Linked DNA regions of Homo sapiens: regions 1 and 2 are each linked to region 3. The links are contacts of gene promoters, found by promoter capture Hi-C in blood cells and fetal thymus (Javierre and others, 2016). All regions are on one chromosome and are shown on one strand. Each heading gives the region's core, a stretch centred on a gene start or on the middle of the fragment in contact. The rest is flanking DNA. Distances are from core to core; before and after follow the strand shown.

Region 1 (3,849 bases), core at 932-3,431, 50 kb after region 3:
AACATGAAAAAAACAAGGACATATGACTCCACCACAGGAACATAATAACTCTTTGGTAATAGACCCCAATGAAAAGGAAATCAATTAATTGCCAGAAAATAAATTAAAAGTAATGATCTTAAGGAAATGCAATGAGATACAAGAAAATACAGATAGATGATTCAACAAAATCAGAAGAACAGTTCATGATATGAATTAGAAATTCAACAAAGAGATAAAAATCATAACAAAAAAACAGAAATCTTGCAGCTGAATAATTCAATGAACAAAGTTTAAAAAATACAATAGAGGGCCAGGCGTGGGGGCTCACACCTGTAATCCCAACACTTTGGGAGGTGAGGTGGGTGGATCGCCTGAGGTTGGGAGCTCAAGGCCAGCCGAAGCAACATGGAGAAACCCCGTCCCTATTAAAAAATACAAAATTAGCCAGGTGTGGTGGCGCATGCCTGTAATCCCAGCTACTTGGGAGGCTGAGGCAGGAGAATTGCTTTAACCCACGAGTCAGAGGTTGCGGTGAGCCGAGATAGTGCCATTGCATTCCAGCCTAGGCAACAAGAGCGAAACTCCGTCTCAAAAAAAAAAAAAAGGAAAAAATACAATAGAGAACTACAACAGCAGACTTGATCAAGCAGAAGAATGACTCTATATTTGAAGATAAGTCATTCGAAATTAGTCAGAGGGAAAAAAGTTAGAATGGAAAACAGTCAAGAAGGTCTACAACACTTAGGGGATCTCATTAAGTAAACAAATATTCATATTATTGGATTTCCAAAGAGAGAAGGGGAAAGGCATAAAAAACTTATTTAATGAAATAATAGCTGAAAACTTCCCAAGTCTGGGGAGAGAGATGGACAGCCAGATCCAGGAAGCTCAAAAGTCCCCAAACAGATTCAACCCAAAAAAGTCCTCTCCAGCCAGATGCGGTGGCTCACGCCTGTAATCCCAGCACTTTGGGAGGCCAAGGCGGGCAGATCATTTGAAGTCAGGAGTTCGAGACCAGCCTGACCAACACGGTGAAATCCTATCTCTACTAAAAATACAAAAAAATTAGCCGAGCGTGGTGGTGCATGCCTGTAATCCCAGCTACTCAGGAAGCTGAGGCAGGAGAAAAGCTTGAACCCAAGCGGCGCAGGTTGCAGTGAGCTGAGATCACACTACTACACTCCAGCCTGGGTGACAGAGTGAGACTGTCTCAAAAAAAAAAAAAAAAAAGGCCTCTCCAAGGTACATTACAGTCAAATTGTCAAAAGTCAAAGAGAGAATTCTAAAAACAGCCAGAGAAGGCCGGGTGCAGTGGCTCACGCCTGTAATCCCAGCACTTTGGGAGGCCGAGGCAGGCAGATCACGAGGTCAGGAGATCGAGACCATCCTGGCTAACATGGTGAAACCCCGTCTCTACTAAAAATACATAAAAATTAGCCAGGCATGGTAGCAGGCACCTTAGTCCTAGCTACTCAGGAGGCTGAGGTAGAATGGTGTGAACCCAGGAGGCGGAGCTTGCAGTGAGCCGAGATTGCACCACTGTACTCCAGCCTGGGTGACAGAGTGAGACTCCGTCTCAAAAAAAAAAAAAAAAAAAACAGCAAGAGAAAAGTGTTAAGTCACATTTAAGGGAATCTCTATTAAACTAACAGATTTCTCTGCAGAAACTTTACAAGCCAGTAGAGAATGGGATGATATATTCAAAGCGCTGCAAGAAAAAGAATCTCAGTCAAGAATACTATACCCAGCAAAGTTGTGCTTCAGAAATGAAGGATAAACTAAGTCTTTCCCAGACATGAAAAAAAAAATGAGGAAGTCATCACACCCTTACAAGACATGCTCAAGGGAGTCCTACATCTGGAAGTAAAAAGATGATAATTACTATCATGAAAATACACAAAAGTATGAAATCCACTTGTAGAACAGACACACAAAGGAGAAAAAGAAAAGAATCAAACCTTATCTCTACAGAAAACCACCAAACCATAATGATAAATGAGAGGAAGAAACAAAGGACATACAAAATAATCAGAAAACAATTAACAAAACAACAGAAGTAAGTCCACACTATCAATAACAACCTTGAATGTAAATAGATTAAATTCCCTCACTTAAAAGGGGTAGACTGGCTGAATGGATTAAAAAAAAAAAATACTTGACCTAACTATATGCTGCCTACAAGAAACTCATTTCACTAGCAAAGACACATACAGACTGAAAGTGAAGGGATGGAGAAAGATATTTCACACAAATAGAAACCAAAAGCAAGCAAGAGTAGCTATAATTATATCAGATAAAACAGACTTTATGTCAAAAACTAAAAAGAGGCTGAGCACGGTGGCTCACGCCTGTAATCCCAGCACTTTGGGAGGCCGAAGCGGGCAGATCACAAGGTCAGGAGTTTGAGACCAGCCTGGCCAACATGGTGAAACCCTGTCTTTACTAAAAATACAAAAATTAGCTGGGCATGGCAGCAGACACCTGTAGTCCCAGCTACTTGGGAGGCTGAGGCAGGAGAATCGCTTGAACCCAGGAGGTGGAGGTTGCAGTGAGCGGAGATTGCGCCACTGCACTCCAGCCTGGGCGACAGAGTGAGACTCTGTCTCACACACACAAAAAAAACCTAAAAAGAGACAAAGAAAGTAATTATGTAATAACAATAAGAGGATATAACAATTGCAAATATATATGCATTCAACACAGAACAGCTATATAAAGCAAGTATTATTAGATCTAAAGGGAGAGATACACACCAATACAATAACAGTTGGGGACTTCAATACCCCACTCTCAGCATTGGACAGATCATCTAGACAGAAAATCAACACAGAAATACCGGATTTATACTACATTTTACATTTAGATTGCATTTTAGACCAAATGGACCTAACAGACATTTACAGAACATTCCATCCAACAGGTGTAGAATACACATTCTTTTCATCAACACCCAGAACATTCTCTAGGACAGACCACATATGAGGCCACAAAATAAGTATAATGAGAAATTTAAGAAAACTGAAATCACAGCAAGTATCTTTTCAGACCACAAAGGAACACTGTGCTCTGAAAATTAGAAATAAATAACAAGAAACTTTTAAAATCATACAAATAAATGGAAATTAAACAATATGCTCCTGAGTGACCAATGGGTCAACAAAGAAATTAAGAAGGAAATTTAAAAATTTCTTCACACAAATGAACATAAAAACACAGCATACCAAAACCTATGGGATACACCAAAAGCAGTATTAAGAAAGAAGCTTATAGCAATAAACGTCACATCAAAAAAGTAGGAAGATTTCAAATCAACTTAATGATGCAGCTCAAAGAATTGTGAAAGCAAGAACAAACCAAACCCAAAATTAGAAGAAATAATCAAGATCAGAGCAGAAATAAAACTTGAGACTTAAAAAAATAGGCCGGGCGTGGTGGCTCATGCCTATAATCCCAGCATTTTGGGAGGCTGAGATGGGTGGATCACCTTAGGCCAGGAGTTTGAGACCAGCCTGGCCAACATGGCAAAACCCCATCTCTACTAAAAATACAAAAAAAAATTTAGCCGGTTGTGGTGGTGGGCACCTGTAATCTCAGCTACTTGGGAAGCTGAGGCAGAAGAATCACTTGAACCTGGGAGGTGGAGACTGCAGTGAGCCAAGATTGCACCACTGCACTCCAGCCTGGGCAACAAGAGCAAAACTCCATCTCAAAATAAATAAATTAATAATCAACAAAATGAAAAGTTCATCTTTGTAAAGATAAACAAAATCCACAAACCATTAGAGCTAGACTAACCAAAAAAAAAAAAAGAGAGAGAGTGAAAAGACCTCCACCAAGAAAACACCAAAAACAAAAAAGTAAACATTA
Region 2 (3,579 bases), core at 598-3,097, 34 kb after region 3:
ATTATTATTATTATTTTTTGAGACAGGGTTTTGCTCTGTCACCCAGGATGGACTGAAGTGGTGTAATCAGAGCTCACTGAAGCCTTGACCTCCCAGGCTCAAGGATCCTCCCAACTTAGCCTCCCCAGTAGCTAGGACCATAGGCATGCACTAGCATGCCTAGCTTATTTTAAAATTTTTTGTGGAGACGGGGTTTCCCTATGTTGCCCAGGCTGGTTTTGACCTCCTGGGCTCAAGCGAACCTCCCACCTCAGCCTCCCCAGTAGCTGGTACCACAGGCATACATCACCACATGTATGACTAATTTTTAAATTTTTTATAGAGACAGGGTCTCCCTATGTTGCCCAGGCTGGTCTCAAACTCTGGGCTCAAGCAATCCTCCTGCCTCAGCCTCCCAAAGTACTGGGATTACAGGCGTGAGCCAACATGCTTGGCCTAATGAGTAATATATAAATATATATTTCATTTTTTTAAATTTTTTTTTTGAGACGGAGTCTTGCTCTGTCGCCCAGGCTGGAGTGAAGTGGTGCAATCTCGGCTCACTGCAACCTCCGCCTCCCAGGTTCAAACAATTCTCTGCCTCAGCCTCCCAAGTAACTGGGATTACAAGCACCCACCACCTCGCCTGGCTAATTTTTTGTATTTTTAGTAGAGGCAGGGTTTCACCATCTTGGCCAGGCTGATCTTGAACTCTTGACCTCGTGATCCACCCACCTTGGCCTCCCAAAGTGCTGGGATTACAGGCGTGAGCCACCACACCCAGCATGAGTAATATTTTTTTAAAAAATAGTGAGAGGCACTAGTTAAACCAATTATGGTACACCATACGACATCTAATGGCTAAGCATCCATTAAAGAAAAAAAAAAAAAGACACGGAAAGGTATATCATTAAGTGAAAAAAGCAAATTATTTAACAATATTTGTAATTTTTTTTTTTTTTTTTTTTTTGCGATGGAGTCTCGCTTTGTCACCCAGGCTGGAGAGCAGTGGCATGATCTCGGCTCACTGCAACCTCCGCCTCCGGGTTCAAGCGATTCTCCTGCCTCAGCCTCCCATGTAGCTGGGATTGCAGGCGCCTGCCCAACACGCCCGGCTAATTTTTGTATTTTTAGTAGAAACAGGGTGTCACCACGTTGGCTAGGCTTGTCTGGAACTCCTGACCTCAAGTTATCCACCTGCCTCGGCCTCCCAATGTGCTGGGATTACAGGCTCATGTGAGCCACCATGCCCAGCCCAATATTTGTAATTTGATACCACTTTCGTAAGTGCAAAAACAAAATTCCATATAAATAAATTATATTTGCACAAATATGCATTTTCAATAATCTGAAAGGAGTCACATAAAACTCTTCATTACTGGTTACCTCTGGGACAAAGGATTGAAAGGCAGTGAGTAAAACTTTTAATTATTTTTTAACTTTGGCACGGTTTGAAACATTTACAGCATATACTGTTTTACTTCTGTAACTAAAAAAAGGGCAACAAAGACAATTTTTAAAAATCTTTGGCTGGGTATGGTGGCTCACACCTGTAATCCTAGCATTTTGGGAGGCCAAGGCAGACGGATCACTTAAGGTCAGGAGTTCAAGACCATCCTGGCCAACATGGCAAAACCCCATCTCTGCTAAAAATACCAAAAATTAGCCAAGCGTGGTGATGCGTGCCTGTAGTCCCAGCTACTCGGGAGTCTGAGGTAGGAGAATCTCTTGAAGTCGGTGGGTGGATGTTGCAGTGAGCCAAGATTGTGCCACTGCACTCCAGCCTGGGTGACAGAGCAAGACTCCACCTCCAAAAAAAAAAAAAAAATTATATATATATATATATTTTCCTTGGCCAGGTGTGGCAGCTCACACCTGTAATCCCAGCACTTTGGGAGGCTGAGGTGGGCAGATCACTTGAGGTCAGGAGTTCGAGACCAGCTTGGCCAAAATGGTGAAACCCCGTCTCTACTACAAATACAAAAATTAGCCAGACATGATGGCATGTGCCTGTAGTCCCAGCTACTCAGGAGGCTGAGGCAGGAGAATCGCTTGAACCTGGGAAGTGGAGGTTGCAGTGAACCAAGATTGTACCACTGCACTTCAGCCTGGGCAACAGAGTGAGACTCTGTCTCAAAAAAAAAAAAAAAAAAAAAAAAAAAAAAAAAAAATTCCCAAACTGCTGTCCAGTTGATCATGCAAAAAGCAGGCTATGCTCTGAGAAAGGCTAAATCAAATAGCCTCACAGGAGCCAGGTGATGGCACAGTGACCATGGTGCACTCTTCCCTGGCATGGCACCACTTCGAGGAAGAGGCATCTATTTGGGTAATGGGTCCAGTCCCACACTCCAGAGACTTAGCATGAGGCTCCCTTTGTACGGTGGTGAGAGTAAGAGTAGTTCAAGGAATCTGCTGGAGATATTTTTTTTAAAAGGAAAAGAAAAGGGCAAGAGTCATGTGCCACTTCTGCTGTGGTGCAGATGTCCTAAGTCAGCCCTAGGCTCTGAGAGGCAACTAGCCAAATTCTAACACTTTAAAGGGTGACATGAAAATGACTCCTTCTTGGCTACACTGACATGTATGTTTCTGCTTCAGGGTAAGCCCTTCTTGCGTTTGGTAGACCACCTGTTCAAAAAAACTGTGAATGTGATATTCAAATTCAGCTAAACCACAGGGGAACAGATAACATAGGCAAAATTTTACTACTTTATATATAGGAGTTGTATTTGGTCCTTAAAATTACTTAGGTCTGTTTCAGAATTAAAAACACAGAAATGAAGAAAACACGGCCAATTTCCTTTATAATCCTGGAGAGTAAGGCTTTTTCTAACCATGCCTCAAAATCCAGAAGCCGTAAAAGAAACTATTGATTAATTTAATTATATAAAAGTAGCCAGGCGTGATGGCTCACACCTGTAATCCCAGCACTTTGGGAGGCCGAGGTGGGTGGATCACTTGAGGTCAGGAGTGCGAGACCACCCTGGCCAACATGGTAAAACCCCATCTCTACTAAAAACACAAAAATTAGCCGGGTGTGGTGGCAGGCACCTGTAAACCCAGCTACTTGGGAGGCTGAGGCAGGAGAACTGCTTGAACCCGGGAGGTATAGGTTGCAGTGAGCCGAGATCATGCCACTGCATCCAGCCTGGGCGATAGAGAGAGACTCTGTCTCAAAAAAAAAAAAAAGTTATATACAAATAAAAAATTTATGTGTGTCAAAAAATACCATAGGCAAAATCAGAAGACAAATGAGGAACTTTCTGGTGGGCAGATCAGGTTGCCCACATCTGAGCCCACTGATGTGTAAGAGAGGGACAACCATATGAGGCAATAGGAAGCGTATAGCACCACTCATTAAGTATTCTTCCCAAAAGAGTGAATCTGAAAGTGATCAAACCTCTAAACTGAACTACCAGTCTATGAGAAATATGTGACAGGAAACACGCTAATACAAAGGAGACACAATCAGCAAAAAATCTAGAATGTAGGAGACTCCACAGGGCAAACGATCCAATTTCTTCAACAAAATTAATGGCAAAGGGGGTATTACGTGTTATGAGACACTTAAGAATTATATCAACCAAAATTACAAATGCATTG
Region 3 (3,848 bases), core at 342-2,841:
CCCCAAAGCTCCTGTGGGCCGCAAAGGGTTCTCACGAGCTGCACGCCCAGCAGGACTTTAGACCCAAGTGAATCCCTGGTGGGACCCCCAGGTTCTATTTGCTTTCTAGCTCCTAGCCACAGCAGGGGAGAAACAGACCAAGCTGAGCGGAGAAGCCTGTAAGTCCTGTGTTTTCCTCCAGACGGTAGCAAGTAGTGGCAGTAGACAGCCTGGGAGTGAGGGACTTCCCAACGCTGTCAAAGACCTTAGGGAACCCAGATTCTGGGGCCATTATCGTAGGGACAAATACCCGCCCCACACCTCCTCAACCCCAGAGGGCTCACTGCAGCCCAACCCTGCAGCTCCCTAGTCCTACTGCAGGGCCACAAGAGAAGGCAAAATGGTGTTGTGTCTTCATTCTTCTATTTTTATTTTTTTTTTTTTGAGACAGGGTCTTACTTTGTTGCCCAGGCTGGAGTGCAGTGGCACGAACATGGCTCACTGCAGCCCTGACCCCCCGGGCTCAAGTGATTCTCCTGCCTCAGCCTCCCGAGCATCTGGGACTACAGGTGTGCGTCACATGCCTGACTGATTTTTGTATTTTTTGTACAGATGGGGTTTCATCATGTTGCCCAGGCTGGTCTCGAACTCCTGAGCTCAAGTGATCTGCCCGCCTCAGCCTCCCAAAGTGCTGGGATTACAGGTGTGAGCCACTTCGCCCAGCCCATTTTTATTTTTTTATTATTATTCTTTGAGATATTAATAATAAAAAATAATAATAAATAATATTTTTATTATTATTATCACTCTGTCACCCAGGCTGCAGTGCAGTGGTGCGATTTTGGCTCACTGCAGCCCGGAACTCCTTGGACTCAAGCGATCCTCCCACCTCAGCCTCCTGGGTAGCTGATACTACAGGTCCACACCACCACACCTGGCTAATTTGTGTGTGTGTGTGTATTTATTTTATTTTTTATTTTTTTAGTAGAGATGGGGTTTTGCCATGTTGCCCAGGCTGGTCTCAAACTCCTGGCCTCAAATAATCTGCCTGCCTCGGCCTCCCAAAGTGCTGGGATTACAGATGAGCCACCACACCCGGCCTAACATTTTTAAAATTATAAACCCACTTCATACGTGTGACAATCCTGTGCAGTGGGTGCTGCTTTCACCCACCCCGCTTTACAGATGAGGAAACCAGGTGCTTTGAGATTAAAGAGATGGCAGTGCTAGGACTCAGAGACACCCTGGCCCCAGGGTCTGTGGACATGACCACTGCCTGAACTGCCTGCGAGGATGCTCCTGACCCGTTAGCCTTAGGGTTATGGGCCCAGCATGCTCCCACCGTACAATTTGCTGTAAGAGGGACACACACGGGGCTTGGAGTACCCCTGAGGCTTGCCAAAGGTTGGGGAGGCAGAATTGTGCTGCGGGGGGTGAGGGGGGAAGGGACAGGAGCCAGCCAGGGACAATGTGGCCCTACCTTCTCCCTGGAGAGACCTCAGCTCTCTGGAATTCATCTATATTTAGCAGGTGGCTGGACAGGAGGCAGATAAGCAGAGCCTGGGGAGGGGGGAGGTCCCCATATATAGTGGGAAGGACAGGACCCCACTCAGTCCCTCTTTGGGTGACCTGTGCCTGCTTCGTGCCTGGTGTGACGTCTCTCAGGATGCCTGAGCCGGGGAAGAAGCCAGGTAGCTTTAGGACTGGGGTTGGGTCTAAGTGTGGGAGCAGGGGGGTGTCTACAATTGGGGAGCAGGGCTAGGAGGGAGTTCTTGAGGGGGTTGACGAGGACGTGGCCTCTGAGCCCCAGGACAGGGGCAGCCAGTCCTCCAGGGTCCTTTTTTGATTCTCGGTTTCTTTTTCCCATCCCTCTGATGAGAGGTGAAGGTAAACCCAAGGTCAGGGACGCAGAGAGGGGACACAGCCAAGACAGGAAGCACCCGGGGTCAACCCATTCTGAGAATGCAAAGGGACCCCTTCCCTGTCCCATTGCCTTCACCTTCCACAGCAAGGTTCCCCGCGGACAGAGCCCACGTTTAGTATGGAGCTGAGCCAGGCTCACGGCATGCCTTCAGACCAGTCTCTACCCACTATGGGTCTCAGTCTCCCAACCTGGGGTGCCGGGGGTGGTGGTGGCATTGGGTTGGTTCCTCCTGGCTGTGACATTATCTGCTTCATGAGCCTGTACGGTGTGGCCCCCATGTTGAGGGTGACACAGCCCCTCTTCTCTGAGAGAGGACAGTCAGGAGCCCCTGAACCCAGGCCAAGGGCAGGGAAAATCACAGCCCAGGGACCTGGGCCTGGGCTGTGCCCTTATGAAGGTTGTCCAGGGCAGAGATCCAGGTCCCCATCCCCCAGCGCCCTCCCAGGCCAGCTTTATCTCAGTTGCTGATACCCAGCCTGAGGTCCTTGGAGGACAAATTTGGCCACATTCCAAGTAGGCAGACTTCCCCGCCCCCTGCCAAGGGCCCGAAATGGTTGGGGGAAAGGGAGCTGGGTTCATCACGGGTGTCTCCAAGCAGGGAAAGTGGACACATGCAGAAAAAGTCTTGTTGGGAGGTCAGGACCACAGCCCTGGCTCTCCCGACTGCTAGCTGTGTGATCTTGGAGGAGCCGCTTAGCTTCTCTGAGCCTCAGTGTCCTCCTCTGAGAAATGAACAGAATAACTGCAACTACCTCAGAGAACTGGTAGAGTATTACGTGAGGGGATGCATAGAAAGTGCTAGCACAGTATTTACTGAGAGGGGCTGCAGGGGCGGGGTGCACGCTCCAACCAGGGGCCGCTGTAGCCTCCACCTGGCCCTTCAGTCTCAGCTTTTAGCAAGAAGCCACGGTCAGTGGAAGTGGCCGCAGGCAGCCCTGCCGTGTTCGAGGCCGAGACAGAGCGGGCAGGAGTGAAGGTGCGCTGGCAGCGCGGAGGCAGTGACATCAGCGCCAGCAACAAGTACGGCCTGGCCACAGAGGGCACACGGCATACGCTGACAGTGCGGGAAGTGGGCCCTGCCGACCAGGGATCTTACGCAGTCATTGCTGGCTCCTCCAAGGTCAAGTTCGACCTCAAGGTCATAGAGGCAGGTAAGATCCTGATCAGCCTTCCCTGAGGTTTGGGCTGCTGGGGGAGGGGCAGCCCAGCGACTCTCCATCCATCCAGGGAACAGGAGGTGCTTTCACACTTTCTTGCCTTTGCTGTGGCTGTGCCCCCCGCCAGGAACGCCCTTTCCCCCTTTTCTGCACATGACCTCTCTGAGTACCCCCATGTGCCATCCTGGCTTGTTCCAGCCATGGGGTAGGTGGGAGAGATGAACAAGACACAACCCCACTCTCCCCCTGCAGACCTCCCTGGGGAGATGACCCTGCACAGACGGCCGGGAAGCCCCAGGAGCTGTGGATGAGGGGAGTGCAGCCCAGTCTGAGGGGCTGCTCTAAGGCTGGGGCAGAGCAGGGATGGACCTGGAGCTGTTCAGGGCAGATGCAGAGGACATGGGAACTGATGGCCTGGGACGGGGAGGAGAATGTGAGAGGCAGGCTGGCTCTCCAGCTCAGCATGAGCTGCCTCTGAGGGGCCCAGGCAGCGGGAGGACAGCCATGGCAGACTTTCCTCATCCACAGCGGGCTCATGGGTCCAATGCTCAGGAGAGAGAGGGTGGAGGGGTCTCTGGTTAGTGGCTGCACCACGACTCCCATCTGATCCCCTCCAGAGAAGGCAGAGCCCATGCTGGCCCCTGCCCCTGCCCCTGCTGAGGCCACTGGAGCCCCTGGAGAAGCCCCGGCCCCAGCCGCTGAGCTGGGAGAAAGTGCCCCAAGTCCCAAAGGTGAGAGGGGCTGGGCAGGGAGGGGCAGGATCCGTGGGTAGGGCGTGTCCAGGGCAG

Evidence for each region. The method cuts DNA at HindIII sites, captures the fragments that hold promoters and counts their contacts. A CHiCAGO score of 5 or more calls a contact.
Region 1: a contact is called between a fragment that was not itself captured here and the fragment with the promoter of MYBPC3 in region 3, in 1 of 17 cell types (M2 macrophages). The highest score is 5.8, in M2 macrophages.
Region 2: a contact is called between a fragment that was not itself captured here and the fragment with the promoter of MYBPC3 in region 3, in 1 of 17 cell types (erythroblasts). The highest score is 5.9, in erythroblasts.

The regions. Positions count from the first base shown.
Region 1 is chr11:47,300,971-47,304,819 of GRCh38, reverse strand. The region is part of intron 24 of MADD (MAP kinase activating death domain); the gene reads right to left. Among named protein-coding and RNA genes, the nearest start is that of MADD-AS1, 31 kb to the right of the region's middle. The HindIII fragment of the contact is 2,133 bases long and covers 1,115-3,247 here.
Region 2 is chr11:47,317,361-47,320,939 of GRCh38, reverse strand. All of the region lies in intron 30 of MADD (MAP kinase activating death domain), which reads right to left. Among named protein-coding and RNA genes, the nearest start is that of MYBPC3, 34 kb to the left of the region's middle. The HindIII fragment of the contact is 3,885 bases long and covers 1-3,579 here.
Region 3 is chr11:47,350,445-47,354,292 of GRCh38, reverse strand. It overlaps MYBPC3 (myosin binding protein C3), which reads left to right and starts at 1,591. Exons shown (of 35, transcript NM_000256.3): 1 at 1,591-1,670; 2 at 2,788-3,054; 3 at 3,678-3,791. The coding sequence starts at 1,646. RefSeq lists enhancers at 1,967-2,947, 2,948-3,848. The HindIII fragment of the contact is 20,166 bases long and covers 1-3,848 here.